2 separate regions of the Homo sapiens genome follow, and region 2 is linked to region 1. Evidence: promoter capture Hi-C in 16 types of primary human blood cells and fetal thymus (Javierre and others, 2016). All regions are on one chromosome and are shown on one strand. The core of a region is centred on a gene start or on the middle of the fragment in contact, and the rest is flanking DNA. Distances in the headings are between cores, read along the strand shown. Region 1 holds the start of FAM168B (family with sequence similarity 168 member B). Region 2 has its middle 18 kb from the start of CXCR4.

Region 1 (3,441 bases), core at 879-3,378:
CTTGGTTTTTTTTCATTGAATAGTCTACCTTGGAGATATTTTCATTTCAGTACATACAAAGTTTCCCCATTTCTTTTTCAAGTTATAGGCTATTTCACTGCATGATGAACCAGAGTTTACTCAGTCATTTCCCTAGGTGTGGACACTAGGGTTTGTTTCCAGTATTTTGCTACTATGCACAATGCTGCAATTAATAGGTGTGAACTCATTTTATTTCACACATCTATAAGTATCTCTGTAGGCAAACTCCCAGAAGTGCAGCTGTTGAATGAAACATTGTTTGTGCGTTTATTTTGACACACATCATCAGACGATCCCCTTTCCCATCCAGCAATGTCTGAGAGTGCGAGCTTCCTGGCAGCCTTACCAATAGCATTGTCAATTTTTTGGATGTTTGCCAATCACAGTGAAAACTGCTACCTCAAAGAGTTTTAACTTGCATTTTTCTTTATAGAAGTGAGATTGGATATTTTTCATATGACTAACAGCCAGACTTAGTCCTTTGCTGTGAACTCTCCTTTTTCTATTGGGTGGTAGGGCTTTTTATTGTTGACTTCTGGAAGCTTTTGGAATATTAAAGAGATTAGCTTTGTCTATTACATGTGTTGGGACTATTTCTTCCTTGTTAATCATTTATCTTTTGACTTTGCTTATGGTGCTTTTTGCCGACCAAAGCTTTTCATAGTCATGACTTCTGGATTTCAAGTAATAATGTAGAAAAGCCTTCTTTACTCCAATACTAAAAAGGAATTTCCCCATGTTTTCTTCTTGTCCTTTTATCACATTTATATTTTATTTTTATTTTTTTTTTTGAGACGGAGTCTTCCTCTGTCGCCCAGGCTGGAGTGCAGTGGCCCGATCTCGGCTCACTGCAACCTCCGCCTCCCGGGTTCAAGAGATTCTCCTGCCTCAGCCTCCAGAGCAGCTAAGGTTACAGATGTGCGCCACCACGCGCAGCTAATTTTTGTATTTTTAGTAGAGACGCGGTTTCACTATGTTGGCCAGGCTGGTCTTGAACTCCTGACCTCGTGATCTGCCCGCCTCGGCCTCCTATAAGTGCCGGGATTAAAGGCGTGAGACACCGCGCCCATCTGTTTTTATTTCATAAACGACTGAAAAAAGACCAGAGCCAGGCCTCCTCCCTTCCATCACTAATCTTTATTGCAATAACTCCCTCCTTTGTCGTCCTGTACCTAGCTCAGACCAGACGACACCCCAAACACAAACACCAAGACACGCACCTCTTTAATACGAAATAATAAACATACCTCCCCCAGAGAGACACCCTGAACTAACCAAATCATTGTAACTATACACTAAGCCTTACATAAAAATACTAACATTTGGCCGGGTGCGGTGGCTCACACTTGTAATCCCAGCACTTTGGGAGGCCAACGTGGGTGGATCACCTGAGGTCACGGGTTCGAGACTAGCCTGACCAACATGGTGAAACCCCCGTCTCTACTAACACAAAAATTAGCCAGGTGTGGTGGCGGGCGCCTGGAATCTCAATTACTCAGGAGGCTGAGGCAGGAGAATCGCTTGAACCCGGGAAGCGGAGGTTGCAGTGAGCCAAGATCGCGCCATTGTACTCCAGCCTGGGTGACAAGAGCGAAACTCCGTCTCAAAAAAAAACCAAAAAACCCCCTAACATTCTAGTACACTTCCCTGAACTCTTGTCTATAGAAATGATCCCGCACTTCTACACTTGAAACGCTGACTTGCATTCTCTAAAATCTGCACTCCTGAGCGGGCGCCCGCAGCCTCCGCACTGGCAAAGAATCTGTGAGCTGAGCTCCGCCCCGCTCCGACCCCGTAGTGGCGGTCACCCGGGGTGTGCTCGACTCCCGGGTGCGGCCTGAGGATCCGCGCCCTGGCGTCTGGGCACACACAAAGGTTTCTGCGGCGCGGGACTATCTCAAAATATAAATTAAATACTTTTTTCACAGACAGTTAATAAAAAAACTACAGCTACACCCGGCCCTTTCGCCAACTGGGACCGGCCCACTCCGCGCTCGCGCTCGCGCTCGTCCATCCGGGCGTCTCGAGGGCGCCGGCGGGAGCGAGCACGCTGCGCAGTCACGTGCCCGGCGCGCCCCCGTCGCGGCGCGCTCAGGCGGAAGTGAGGTCGGCGGCTCCGGTGGCTGCGCAGCGTCGGCGGGGAGCGCGGGCTGCGGAGAGGCGGGCCGGGCCAAGCGGAGCCGAGCGAGCGGGAGCGCGGCGTCCGGGAGGCGGCGGAGACGCGGGGCTCGGAGGGTCAGCCTCTTATCGTAGCAGGTCTCCTCGGCACGCCCCCCTTGTTTCGCCCCACGGCCAAGCCCGCCGCGGGCCGGCGTGCGCTGGTCACTGAGGCCCAGGTCGCCGCCGCGGCGCGGTGAGTGGGGGCGGGCAGCGGGCGACTGCGCGTCCAGGCCGGAAGTGCGGCGCTTTGTGCGGCCGGCTCGGGGCGGCGCCAAGGTCGGCCCGCGGCTCGGGGTCGCTGGGCGTCTGGACCGGCCTGGGCTGCGCTTTGTGCCGCGGGCAAGGCCGGGCGGGGGCCGGGGGCGGAGCTCGGCCGGACACGTACGCGTGCAGGTGCGGTCCGGGCGGCGCGGGCCTGCCGCCTAGGTGGCCGAGGTGGCTTCGCGGCGCGGGGCGTTCTCCTAAAGGTCGGGGTCACAGCCGTCAGGAATGCGAGCGTGAAACCCGGGGGCAGAGCTTTGTGACAATAGTCATTTCCAATGTGTAACTGCTCACTTTGTCTACCCACGAAGTAAAGATAATTTTTATTTTTATTTTTTTGCTTGGCGGAATCTGAGCGTTCTCCTTCCAGCTTGAAAAGGCACGATTTAAATTACAGATTTTTAAGATTTCCTTCAGAAAGGACGTTTCGTGGCCTAGCCTGGGTTAACTTTGAAAAAAGAGTGCAGTGCGCCTTTACGACGTCCACAAATAAGGGTATTTCTGTTTTATAGTGTATGTGAACATGAAGTGTGCATCTCATGGGCTGTTTGAGTTAATGTTTAATCATTAAAGTCAAACAAGAATATTTTGCAGTGTTTTCGCATGCAAGGAAGCTTTATAAATAAAAAGGTTTATATAGTTTCCACTCCTTAAACTTTCAGGTCATCCTTGTGTAATTTGAGATCACTTTTCTCAAATACTATGGATGAAAGATTCTAGATTAAATAAAACTTTTTGGTTTTGGCAAAAACAGGACACATTTTTAAGCTCTTGTAGATGAAGGAGTGGGTTATTTTTGCTTTGACAGCCAAGATTTGAGCAGTGTAAGGCTATTCTAATTTTGAAGCTAGTGTTGCAGAAATTGTGAAGATCTTGCTTCTCTTTGTCTTTACAAAGCAGGCTTACTTTGGTGGAGTTCCGTAGTTTAAAGGGAAATTATACCCAAGTTGTCTTAGACAGTTTCTTTTCCTGGATCAATTGAGCACTTTTTTTTTTTTT
Region 2 (3,554 bases), core at 535-3,034, 5.0 Mb before region 1:
ACTGTCTGAACTACCCACTGTTATCAGCATGAGGATGGCACCCTAGTCTTGCTGGTGAGTGGTGCTGGGACTTAGAATGCAGCAACCCAGAGCATGGCACTTGGGCACGCTGAGTACTTTGAACTAAAGGAGATTGGAAGACCTCAGAAGCAAAGTCTTTCTGACCTTCTTCTCCCCTCCTGTCTTCCACCTCTCTTCATTTCTCCCCCAAAGTGAGCCATACAAACTAGAATTCTCCTTCCCCACGGCAGATCATAGAAAATAGAACCCCTCTCCCTTAAAGCAAGCCATAAAACCAGAAAGGTCACTCTCTCCCTTCTCCTTTGAAGACCTTCATTCCGGAGGGTCCTGCCCCCATACCTGGGAGGAGGGAATGCTGCACAGAGAGGCCAAGAAGAATTTGAACAGACAGCCTCCCTGGATATCCCCCTCAGTCTATCACCATTACACCATACCCTTTCTCCAATCACATTTCTACCCGCTGTCCATTCTTCATTAAACCTAAGCATAAAAACAGCTTTCTCTGGGTCTTTGAGTCTTCATTTCTGAAGGCTTTTATGTCATATAAACTTTGATTAATACATTTGCTATGTTTTTCTCTTGTTAACCTGTCTTTTGTTATAGCAGTATTGGCTGTAACCCTTATGATGGGTAGGAAAGGGGTTACACCCTACCACCCCTACAGAGGTTATGCTGCTCATGACAGAATGCAACTCATCTAAAGCTTGAACTCAAAACTTGGCAACCTTAAGGCCTTTTTGTGGCAATGAGAGCATTTGAATGTGTTGCAATTCTCTTTTTTAGAAAGAAATGATAACCCTGGGCTTTAGTTTGCTATCTTCACTGATACACTTCAAAAGGTGGGAATTCCATGAAGGTGAGGATGAGAAGAAACAAGCAGCTTGCTTACCCCACTGTACTGCACCGCCCTATTTGTCATCAACCACCTGGTGGTGATCTCCTGCTGGGCAGTGGTTTCTGTCTCTCTGTCCTCAGGTGTGATTTGAAATGTCTCCCAGTGCCTGGCACTTGGTAGACAGTCAATAAAAGTGCTCAATTCAATGACTAAGTGGGGGAATGGTCATATGATTTGATCCTTTCAATCTGGAGAGTTTTCAGATGTGTTTGAAGCATTTGTCCCTAGAGTCAGTTATGTCCAGGAAGCTCCCTAAATGCTGCCTTAGGCTCAATTTGCCCCCTCTAGAATGAAAGCAGCTGTTTCTTTTCTGGAAACATACCAGGAAGTGTCTTAGGGGTACCCCATCTTCCCGCCTTTTTGCCTCTGTAACAGCCATCTCTCCTTACCTCAAAAAATATAGTATGTGTGTTTTCAAGCTGCAAAGAAACCGTTGAAAATTAAACCACAGAACAGCATTTTAATGAGAACAGATTACCTAACACCCCACTGTGGTTTCAGATGGCCTTGTGCCAACCTTCCAAACTGTTGCCAGAAGCCCAGAGTTACAAAAAAAAAAGGAGGGTGGGGAGTTGTGGGGAGAGGGGAAAAGAGTGACTAGCATCCCCTCAGTGAGGGTAGCTTTCTTAGATGGTTTCCAAAATGATCTCTCTAGAAGGTCATAGGTTATTGGTGCCTGCAGTTGAAGAAAAGTTTCTTCCTGTTTTGAAAAATTTAAGAGAGACAAAAAGGGGGAGGCACCCTTGAGTTAGTACATGATGTCCTGAACTAGGTGTTTTCAGCACCAAAGTTCTGCTGTAAGTGTCTGTACCCACTGTCTAGCTCATCAACTTGCCTTCTGCGCACATACTTGCTATTTCTGTAGCTAGGTTACAAGACCGCAGGTGTAGATGCTGCCGGGTGGAAGCTCTGCATGCCCACAGAGCAAAGCCCGAGCAAACACTGTTCCTCCCTGGCTGATAGCTTGCACTGGGGGCTCCTGGTAGTGGGCACAGAGGCGCTAAAGCTCACATGGGCTCATTCCTCAGGGACTTTCTTTCCTTAGTCTCCAACTAACCCAGCACTTAATGTATTCAGGGCTGCGGTTTCATTTCCACATTGGGTTTCCAGATTTAACCCCTGAACTAACTTCTGCAGTTGTCTTCCCACCAGTTCAACAACAACCAGATGGCCTGCAAGGCCACAGGAAAAAGTAGATGACAGAGCTGGAAGATGCTGGAGTGGAATACCTTCATTCCACTGATGAGGAAATCAGGTCAGGCCCAGAGGAAGTTTAGAGATTCACCCAAAATCACACACCCACTCAGCAGTGGAGACAAAAATACAACCACTATCCTGATTTCCAGCCTGTGGCACTGCCCTAACTGTATGGCTTCCCATTCCTTTCAGTAACACAGTAGCTTTTACCTCTTGCACACAAAGTGACAGACACACAATGGGCCCTCCTTAAATGCTACTTTCCTTCCTTGCAAACTATACCATACTGTGCTAAAACTTGAGAAGGATAAGTGGAAAAGTACCACACTCTCTGGCTCTCAAAGAGTTATAGCACCTTAAAGGTAACAAACAGCATGCCTACATTGAGCATAGAAACAACACAAGCTGATGCAAAACAGAGTGCCAGAAGATGCTTCATACCATGAGTGCAAGGAAAAGCAAAACACCTCACTTTACCCCCTTCACCTCATTAACTCCCATTTACTTGTTTTGTCTTAGTTTTGAGGTCATCTCTTTTGGAAAGCCTTCCACGTTTGGTTTAGGTTGAACTATAAGTGCAGGTGCACTTGTCTGGATCCTTGTGAGCTCCATGAGGACAGGTTCCTGGTCGGCCTTGTGCACTGCCTTTATCCCTATGTCTGGTGCCTGGGACAGAGTGCTCAGCAAGCATTTGGGGAAGTAAGGAACTGAATATCCATCAGGAAGCTTTTACCCAGGACATGGGATGGAAAATGGGCTCTAAGATGAAAAGGATTTCTATCAATGCAGAAGGTGGTGCAGAAATGAGTGGATAATAACTCCCATAGAAAAATCACTCCTGGCCCAGGCGTGGAGGCTCACGCCTGAAATCCCAGCACTTTGGGAGGCCGCCAAGGTGGGAGGATGGCTTGAGCCCAGGAGTTCGAGACACCCTGGGCAACATCTCGAGATCTTGTCTCCAAAAAAATAAAAGTTAGACGGGCATGGTGGCCTGTGTCTGTAGTCCTAACTACTCGAGAGACTAAGGTGGGAGGATCACTTGACTCAGGAGGCAGAGGCTGCAGTGAGCCATGATTATGCCTCTGCATTCCAGCCTAGACAACAGAGCAACACACTGTCTCAAAAAAGAAAAGAAAGGAAAGAAAAATCACTGCTGCAATCTGTGTGAAGTGAGGTCAGGGAGGAGACCACCATGGATATAGCAATGGCCTTTGATAAAAAGGAGCCGGAAGGTAATATTCGGTAAATCAAGTGAGGCCAAACTCTGGGAGGTCAGGAATGCTAAGAGGATGATGGCAACCAGAGGATGATGGTTTAAAAAAAAATTAGGAAAGAAAAATCCAAGCCACTAGAAAGCTGCACATAGCAAACCACTCAGCTCAGTGTTAGAATCTGACGTTGGTGAGTGTTTTCCTATCCTTGAAAAGAGTGCTTTCGGGCT

The links. Contacts are between HindIII fragments. The CHiCAGO score rates a contact against its expected background, and 5 or more counts as called.
Region 2: a fragment that was not itself captured here is called in contact with the fragment with the promoter of FAM168B in region 1 in 1 of 17 cell types (fetal thymus); the score reaches 7.6 in fetal thymus.

Annotation. Positions count from the first base shown.
Region 1 is chr2:131,092,147-131,095,587 of GRCh38, reverse strand. It overlaps FAM168B (family with sequence similarity 168 member B), which reads left to right and starts at 2,128. Exons shown (of 7, transcript NM_001009993.4): 1 at 2,128-2,374. RefSeq lists a silencer at 1,955-2,674. The HindIII fragment of the contact is 2,381 bases long and covers 678-3,058 here.
Region 2 is chr2:136,134,555-136,138,108 of GRCh38, reverse strand. No RefSeq gene overlaps it. Among named protein-coding and RNA genes, the nearest start is that of CXCR4, 18 kb to the right of the region's middle. RefSeq lists an enhancer at 1,432-1,481. The HindIII fragment of the contact is 2,115 bases long and covers 727-2,841 here.